2 separate regions of the Homo sapiens genome follow, and region 1 is linked to region 2. Evidence: promoter capture Hi-C in human tissues and cell types (Jung and others, 2019). All regions are on one chromosome and are shown on one strand. The core of a region is centred on a gene start or on the middle of the fragment in contact, and the rest is flanking DNA. Distances in the headings are between cores, read along the strand shown. Region 1 has its middle 29 kb from the start of SPDYE5. Region 2 holds the start of STYXL1 (serine/threonine/tyrosine interacting like 1).

Evidence for each region. The method cuts DNA at HindIII sites, captures the fragments that hold promoters and counts their contacts. A contact is called where the count stands out against the background at its distance.
Region 1: a fragment that was not itself captured here is called in contact with the fragment with the promoter of STYXL1 in region 2 in 1 of the 25 tissues and cell types used here (dorsolateral prefrontal cortex).

Annotation. Positions count from the first base shown.
Region 1 is chr7:75,519,072-75,523,673 of GRCh38, forward strand. It overlaps the pseudogene PMS2P3. Among named protein-coding and RNA genes, the nearest start is that of SPDYE5, 29 kb to the left of the region's middle. The HindIII fragment of the contact is 4,690 bases long and covers 1-4,067 here.
Region 2 is chr7:76,046,080-76,051,027 of GRCh38, forward strand. It overlaps STYXL1 (serine/threonine/tyrosine interacting like 1), which reads right to left and starts at 1,921. Exons shown (of 9, transcript NM_001317785.2): 1 at 1,583-1,921. It overlaps MDH2 (malate dehydrogenase 2), which reads left to right and starts at 2,027. Exons shown (of 9, transcript NM_005918.4): 1 at 2,027-2,147. The coding sequence starts at 2,082. RefSeq lists enhancers at 1,394-2,176, 1,622-1,711, 1,822-1,901, 2,177-2,958 and a silencer at 2,152-2,311. The HindIII fragment of the contact is 5,088 bases long and covers 1-4,682 here.

The DNA.
Region 1 (4,602 bases), core at 473-2,972, 530 kb before region 2:
GAGCCAGAAGGACTGCTTGAGGCCAGGAGCTTGAGACCAGCCTTGGCAACATAGCAAGACCCTGTCTCTACAAAGAAAAAAATATATATATTAGAAAAAATAGAGAGAGAGAGACATGAGGACTTCTGCCCTCAGGTGTGATAAACTAACAGGTACTGCATATACCCTCCAACCTGAAACAGCACACACCAAAGAACAACAACAAAATCAAAAACAGAAAGAAAAATAAAATGGAGAACATATATGAAGCAATGGTTTGTTTGTTTTTGTTTTTGTTTTTTATGAGACAAAGTCTCACTCTTGTCTTCCAGGCTGGAGTGCGATGGCACAATCTTGGCTCACTGCAACCTCCGTCTCCCGAGTTCCAGCGATTCACCTGCCTCAGCCTCCCAAGTAGCTGGGATTACAAGCATGCACCAGCACGCCCGGCTAATTTTTGTATTTTTAGTAGAGACGGGGTTTCACCATGTTGGCCAGGCTGGTCTTGAACTCCTGACCTCATGATCCGCCTGCCTTGGCCTCCCAAAGTGCTGTGATTACAGGTATGAGCCACCACGCCTGGGCTGAAGCAATGGCTTTCAAGGCACTGATTATCAGGCAGTAGAGTTATCTATGAGTGATGGGAAATAAACAAGGTGAACCAATCAACTTCTGCCTTGAGTGACTCCAGGCCACGGAGCAGGGAAGAAGAACAGAGGCAGATGTGAGGAGAAAGAGCTGCGAGTCGGGAAAATGGGCAGGAAACTACAACCCATAAGGAAAACAATCAGTCCATCAAAACTGGCCCAGAATTGACACAGAGTTTACAACTGGCACAGAGCACTGAGAGAGTTCATCATTCTATTCCAAATGTTCAAAAAAATTGAGACAGGCAAGATGTGAAAAAGACCCATGCTAACCTTCTACAGATAGAAACTACAATATCTGAGATGAAAATTATACTGGACAAGATGAACAGCATCGTGGAAAAAAGAGATTAGTGAATATAAAGACAGCAACAGAAGTTACATAAAATGAAACAGAGAAAGAAGAATTAAAAGCAAATAAAGAGCAACAGTATGTTGTGGGAAAATTTCAAGTGGCCTAATATACAGGCAACAAGAATCAATGGAGGGGAGGTGGTGGGTACTTGAAGAAATAATGATAAAAATGTTCCCCAAGTGATGACACCATAAACCCAAGATCCAAGAAGTTCAATGATCCCCAAAACAGAAACATGAAAAAAAGATACCATGACATATTGCAATCAAATTGTCCAAAACTAGTGATAAAAAGTTTAAAACAATAAGGGGGGAAGAAAAAAAGACATGTTATATATAGGGGAACAAACATGAGTATGAGATCAGATTTCTCTTAGAAAAAAATGTAAGCAGGAAGACAACAGAGAAACATATTTAAAGCACTGTGGAGAAAAATCCAGCAAAAACACCTTTAAAAGCAAAGACACAATGAAGACATTTGCAGACCTACAAGAATTCATCATCAACTAGAAGAAATGTTAAAGAAAGTCCTTCAGGCAGAAGTAAAATGACAGAAAATAAAAATTTAGATTTACATAAAGGAATGAAGAGTACCAGAAATGGTAACTGTGTATTTTCTCTCATTACTTAAATCTCTTTAAAAGATACCTGGGCCAAGTGTGGTGGCTCACACCTGTAATCCCAGCACTTTGGGAGGCTGAGGCAGACAGGTCACCTGAGGTCAGGAGTTCGAAACCAGCCTGGCCAACATGGCGAAACCTCATCTCTACTAAAAATACAAAAATTAGCCGGGCGTGGTGGTAGGTGTCTGTAATCCCAGCTGAGGGAGGCTGAGGCAGGAGAATCACTTGAACCCAGGAGGTAGAGGTTGCAGTGAGCCGAGATCGCACCCCTGCACTCCAGCCTGGGGGACAGAGTGAGACTCTGTCTCTAAATAAATAAATAAATAAATAAACAAATAAAAGATAACTGTTTAATTAACAACAACGTAATAGATAGTGTGTGGCACTGATACCACCTGTAAAAATGAAATGAACAACGGTGTAAAGACCAAGAGGAGAGAAATGGAAGTGTCCTATTGTAAGCTTCTCTTACTCTAAGAAAAATGGTATATTACTTAAGAATAAACTATGATAATTAAGGCTGCATACTATAAATTCTAACTCACTAAAATAATAACAGTGTGATAGCCAAAAACCCAACAAAAGATATAAAGTAGAATCATAAAAAATTCTCAACTAATCAAAAGGAAGGAAGACAAACAGAGACATTTTAAAAAGAAACAAAGAAGATGAGACTAAAAGAAAGCAAAGACAGTGGACTATAACCTAACTCGTTTTATCAATAATCACATTACATGTAAACGGTTTATACATCCCCAATTATGAGACAGAAACAGACTGATGAAAACAAGCAAGATCCAAATCTTGCTGCCTACAAGAAATAATACTTTAGATATAAAGATGCAAATAGGTTAAAAGTAAAAGGATGGAATAAGATATAGCATGCATGCATTACTCAAAAGAATGCTTCATAAATAACAAAGTACATTTCACAGCCTGGAATATTAGCAGGGATAAGGAAGGCCATTTTACAAAGTGGTTAATTAATCAACAGGACGTAATAACCTTGAACATTTATGTATCTAATATAACACATAAAGCAAAAAGTGGTAAAATTGCAAAGAGAAACAGAACCACAACTGCAGCAGATTTCAATCCCCTCTCCCCCACAATTGATACAAGTGGGCACACAATCAACAAGGATATAGTACACCTGAACAACACAACCAACCAACTTGATCTCATTAACATTTATCAAACACTCCACCCAACCAGAGCAGAACAAGCCATCTTCTCAGGCATGCACAGAATTTTCCCAAGACAGATCCTATTATGAGCCATAAATTTAAGAGGTTCCATGTAGTATTCCAGACAAAAATTCAGTCTAAATCTAATCATGAAGAAAGATCAGGGAAACCTAAATTTAAAGACTTCTATAAAATCACTGGCCTGTATTCTTCAAATATTATAATGGCACTGAGGAACAAATCCATATTAAACAGACTTAAAAAGCATGAAAACTAAAGGCAATTAACAGTCCTAGACTGAATCTTCTACCAAAAATTAAAAATTGCTATAAGGGAAATTATTGGGAAATTGGCCAAACTGGAAAATGAACTACAGATAAAAGTATTAAATCAATGATAAATTTCCTGAATTCAATTACTGTGCTATGGATATTTAACAGAATGTTCTTGATTTTATGAGATATAATCTAAAACTTTATAGGGTAAAGAGGCATGACATACCCACTCTCAAATAGTTCAGAAAATATATATAGACACATATGTATATATGCATATAAATGATTAATGTGGGAAAATGTTAAGAATGAAGTGTCTGAACAAAAGGAAGTGTCTGGGATTTCTTTGTAAAATCCTTGCAATTTTTCTGAAAATTTGAAATGATTTCAAAATAAAATGCTAAATAGAAAATAATGCTATCAAATATATATTATATGTATACATTTGCTATCAAATATATCAAATATATTTCAAAAGGACTCAGAAACCAACTTAAAGGGATTCCGTCTGGCCAAAGATGGAACCACTTAATTTTCAAAAAGAATCACAACTTCTATGTACTGAAATATTTACTATCTGTTTAAACCCATGAGCTCATGATGGTAACAAAACAAAAAAACCTTCCTGCTTAGAAGCCTACTCAATATTATAGAAACTGTCTTTCCTGCATGAATTACATAAACAAATAAAGAATAGAAATTTATCTTTAGAAAAGTATTCTAGGCCAGCTGTGGTGGCTCATGCCTATTATCCCAACACTGGGAGGTCAAAGAAGAGGATCACTTGAGCCCAGTTCAAGACCAGCCTGGGCAACAAAGAGAAACCTGTCTCTACTAAAAATTAAAAAATCAGCTGGGCATTGTGGCATATGACTATACTCCCAGCTACTTGGGAGGCTGAAGTGGGAGGATCACTTGAGCACAGGAGTTTGAGGCTGCAGTGAGCCATAAATGCGCCAGCCTGGGCGACAGAGTGAGACTCTGTCTCCAAAAAGAGAAAAGAAAAGAAACGTATTTTGGCTAGTAAATAAAGAATAAATGGTAGAATTAGCAGATCACCATTTTGCCTCCCCTAATGAACTAGTAAATCACAGCAATAATCAACAGTCAATAGTTCTTAACTTCACAAAAACAAAGAAGGTAACACGTGCCTCCAGAAGTAGACAAATGCCACATATGGTATAGTTGTGTGAAAAGAACTGAACATAAACTTGATTAGACTTCTAGATCAAACTACCAATTTTACAAGGCATATGAGATATTTTTTAAAAATTTGCTAAAGGTGAAACAAGGGTAACACAATCCAAACTGAGGATAACCAACACAGTTTCTTCAAAACAATGAGCACGCAAGAGACATACTATGGGAACTATTAAAAGATTTAACGCAACTGCCACATGTATTAAGAGAGTATTATGGGTTATTCCTAGCCCCTTTAAAAAAATTCTTTATTGGCCACGTGTGGTGGCTTACACCTGTAATCCTAGCACTTTGGGAGGCCAAAGTGAAAGGATAACTTGAGGCCAGGAGTTTGAGA
Region 2 (4,948 bases), core at 671-3,170:
TTTTTTCCCGCTAGGATTTTATTTGGCCTTTTTTCTCCTCCTTTCCTGTCTAAACATTTCCCATTGTTAAATGCTCAGGCCCTAGTGCCCCTCCTTTGAGAATTCTGATTCCAAGGCAAGGGATCTTTCCCTCCTCTGGAGTTGAATGTTCCATTGAGAAACACCTACTCTTCCAGCATGTCTCAGCTTATCTGCTGTGTGTGTGTGTGTGTGTGTGTGTGTGTGTGTGTGTGTGTGTGTGTGTGTGTGTGTGTGTGTGTGCGCGCGCGCGCGCGCGCGCTTTTGAGCCGGAGTTTAGCTCTTATCACCCAGGATGGAGTACAATGGCACAATCTTGGCTCACAGCAACCTCCACCTCCTGGGTTCAAGGGATTCTCCTGCCTCAGCCTCCTGAGTAGCTGGGACTACAGGCACACGCCACCATGCCCAGCCAATTTTTGTATATTTAGTAGAGATGGGGTTTCGCCACATTAGCCAGTCTGGTCTCAAACTCCTGACCTCAGGTGATCTGCCCGCCTTGACCTCCCAAAGTGCTGGGATTACAGGCATAAGCCACCACACCCGGCTTTTTTTTTTTTTTTTTTTGAGACAGAGTCTTTCTCCGTCGCCCAAGCTGGAGTACAGTGGGGTTATCTCGGCTCACTGCAACCTCCCTCCACCTCCCGGGTTCAAGCGATTCTCCTGCCTCAGCCTCCGGAGTAGTTGGGGCTACAGGTGTACACCACCACGCTGGGCTAATTTTTGTATTTTTAGTAGAGATGGGGTTTCACCATGTTAGCCAGGCTGGTCATGAACTCCTGGCCTCAAGTGATCGGCCCGCCTCAGCCTCCCAGAGTGCTGGGATTACAGGCATGAGCCACCTTGCCTGGGGGTGTTGTTTAATTTTAAAAATATGTATCAGGCCGGGCGCGGTGGCTCACGCCTGTAATCTCAGCACTTTGGGAGGCCGAGGCGGGTGGATCACGAGGTCAGGAGTTCGAGACCAGCCTGACCAACGTGGTGAAACCCCGTCTCTACTAAAAAAAAAATACAAAAAATTAGCCAGGTGTAGTGGTGCGCTAATCCCAGCTACTCAGGAGAATGAGGCAGGAGAACCACTTGAACCTGACAGGCAGAGGTTGCAGTGAGCCAAGATCGCGCCACTGCACTCCAGCCTGGGCTAGAGAGACTCCGTCTCAAAAAAATAAATAAATTCATACATTTAAGTAATAAACTCATTGTGAGCAAGGAATTCTACTCGACTTTCTGTCTGCGTAAACTCTACAAATCCACTTGGCCTCAGCCACAGTGTCTTTATTCGTAAAGCAGAAACAGTGGGACCGTCAGAGCACTGCCGGGCAGGCGAGAGAAGACAGGAACTGTATGACCACGGAAGTTGTTGTCCCTACAACCTATTTGCTCATCTGGAACACAGAATAGTGGTCCTCTAAAGCTTGCAGGGCTGGAGGTCGCCATTATCAGCAGTGGTGTCACTAAACCTGAACCCAAGGGTCTCTGCAACTTGGGAAACGACGGCCCGGATCTGAGGAGATGGCCCCTTCCTCCCACCCCGCCTAAGGACTCTCAGCCTCCCTGACCCTACCTTTCCGGAGCTCAGAGTCCCCTCTGGCCTCCAAGGGCAGAAGGAATGGGTTTGGCTGAGGTCGGGGGCTCGGGTCTGGGACGCGCTCCACCTCCCCGGCTGCGCGACTATGGCCAGGCTCCCTGTCGGAGCCTCTGCCTGGGGCCCCACCTGGAAAAATGGCTCCTCTAAGGCGCTTCCAGCCTAAAGCCCGTCCTCTTCCACCTCTTGGGTGCAGACTGGCCCTCCCACTCCGACCGCAGGTCCCCCACCGGCCACACAGACGGCTACGCTAGAACCCAGCCAAACACCGGGGTTGCCAGGATGGTCCCACAGCTTTCCTTTCCGACTCCCGGAAGTGGCCGTGATCTCACGAGATCCCGGAGGCGAGCGCGACCGGAAGTCCGGTCACTCTCGCGAGGCCCCAGAGAGCAGGCGCTGGGCAGTGTGGAGGTCGTTGGAGTCACTTCCCCGTCACCAGCTCCTGTGCCTGCCAGTCGGTGCCCCTCCCGCTCCAGCCATGCTCTCCGCCCTCGCCCGGCCTGCCAGCGCTGCTCTCCGCCGCAGCTTCAGCACCTCGGCCCAGGTAGGCCAGACGAGGGGCGGCCTGCAGGCGGAGGCCCCCCGGCCCGGGCCACGTGCGTCCCCGGTTCGCGGGCAGCTCTGACCCTCTCCAGGCCAGCCTGGACCGCAGGGATGCCCGGCACTGGCTGGAGACTGTGGCGCCCGGGGCAGGCCCTGACACTGGCCTGGAGGTGCGGGGGAGAAAGCCGGGGAAAAGGGGGCGAGGTAGTCCCGCTCCAGGGCCGGTCCATTTGTCAGGGTTCCCCCAGGTCTCCCAGATTTCCCAGAGGACCTGCTCTTGGCTTGCACGCCTTCAAGGTTGGGAAACCAGGGCTCTGCATCTGAAAGTAAACTTACGTTTTTTTCTGCAGCGTTCCATTGCTTTGACGTAGCTAATCTCCTTGCAGCATCCGTGTGAGTTGTGCGTGAATAAAAGAAATCGTATACTTCCTAATTCCATAGTATGGACAAACCGAGGCTAGAGAACTGGGCCAGGGTTACAGTCATTTGGCCAGAGGATTAGAATTCAGCGCTTCTGACCTGAAGACGGCTTCCTCTTAACCTTTTTGGAGGATCTCTCCTGCTGTGGGCGGACTGAGCCTGCCGCCAGGTGTCTTAACAGTGCTTGACTTGGCCCGCGACCACTTAAGCCTAGGAGCCTAGGCTATTTTTAGCCATCTTCTAGAATGGTGGTTCTTAAACTCTGCAGTGTGTCAGAATCACCAGAAAGCTAATAAAAAACAGACGTCTGGGTTCATTGAAGAAGCTTAAGACTGCGGGGGGGGGGGGGGGGGTCCGCATTTTTACCAGGTGAATCTAATTAAACCTAATTTTGAGAACCCAGGAGGTGCTCGCATTGCCTTTTAATTACGACGCCCAAGAGGGAGGTAATTTTAAAGGGGAATCCAAATTTATCATCGAAGTTCTCGAGTTTCCTGTACATCCAGTTCATTTGAAAAATAAATACAAATGCTCCTGGATTGATGGCTACTTCCCATACCCATCGCAAGTTGGTAATATCCTAAGTCAAAAGGCGAGTTTAACTTTGTGTATTTTCAACTTGCAATGGGTTCCCACAGGCAACCCCATTGTAAGTTGAATGTACCAAATGCTTTTGCGCTGCGGTGAAGTGGGGGCCCAGCTGTATACAGATAAGTACATTAAGTACCTGTGCTTGCCAACAACTATGCTGGGTGCTGCAGGGGATACCAAGATAAGTGAGAAGTGACACTTGATATGGGACAGGAATGAGTAAACTTAGGACAGGTGGAAGCGATGAAGGTCTTAGGGAATGAGTAAACTTAGGACAGGTGGAGGCGATGAAGGTCTTAGGGAATGAGTAAACAGGACAGGAGGGATGAGGTGTGGGGGAGGGGCAGCCAACCAAAGAGAGGACAGGGGTGTCCAGGGAGAGGTTGAGTTTTGGTAGGACCTTCAGATATCCGACATATTTATTGAGCTAGGTACTGGAAATACAGCGGTGAACAAAACACAGAAGTCCCTGCTCTCACGGAAATTACTAGATATTTTACTTATTGCCCCACTCATTATAAAGTATCTTAAAATAGTGATGAACATGCAAGAAAAATGGGGATTGTAGGGTGCTTGTGTTAGGGAAGAGGGTACCAATTTTATTTACTTTTTTTGATGCAGTGCCTCGCCCTGTCGACAGGCTGGAGTGCAGTGGCGTGATCTCGGTTCACTGCAGCCTCCACCTCCCAGGTTGGAGCGATTCTCCTGCCTCAGCCTCCCGAATAGCTGGGACTACAGGCGCGCACCACCGTGCCCAGCTAATTTTTGTGTTTTTAGTAGAGATGGGGTTTCACCATGTTGGCCAGGATGGACCTGACAGAGTCCCACTCTGTTGCCCAGGATGGAGTGCAGTGGCGCCATCTTGGCTCACTGCAACCAACTCTTGGGCTCAAGCTATCCTCCTGCCTCATCCTCCCGAGTAGGTGGGAATCACAGGCAAGGGCTACGACAGCTGGGTAATTTTTGTAGTTTTAGTAGAGATGGGGTTTCACCATGTTGGCCAGGCTGGTCTCAAACTCCTGGCCTTAAGTGATCCACCCTCCTTGGCCTCCCAAAGTGCTGGGATTACAGGCGTGAGCCACCACTCCCAGCCGAGGGTAGCAGTTTTACATCAGCCAGGGTAGGCCTCACGCAGAGTGAGATGTTTGAGTAAAGTCTGAAGGAAGCAGAGATCACATCATATGGAAAGAGTATTGCAGGTAAGGGATATGTCTCAGGATGTAGCTGAGAGCCCTTGGAGAAGCATGGGGCATGCCTTGAAGGTTTGAGAAAATGAGGCTAGGGTAGTTCCAGAGAAGGCAGTGGAGGTAACAGAACAGGCCTTGTAAAACTTTGGTATTTTCTCAGAAATGGGGCGGCCAGTTGAGGGTTTTCAGCTGCGTAATGACTTGCTCTTCCTTCCATTTTAACAAGATGGTCTTAGGAGTGAGAGAAAGGTAGGTTAGGAGTTCATTGTGGTTATCTAGGTGCAGGTGGTAAGAAATGATTGAATTCTGGGTATTCATTGATGGTACCAGAAGGATTTGCTGATGTGTGATTAGATAAGGGGTCGGGGATGACACCAAGGTTTTGGGCCTTGGAGTTGGGCTGAAATAGGCAAGACTTATAGAAGAGAGTGGGTTTAACCAGGGAGAAGATATCAGGAGTTCAGTTTTTATTTATTTACTGAGAGTCTCGCTCTGTTGCCCAGGCTGGAGTACAGTGGCGTGATCTCGGCTCACTGCAGCCTCCGCCTCCTGGGTTCAAGTGGTTCTCTCACCTCAGCCTCCTGAGTAGCTGGGATTACAGGTG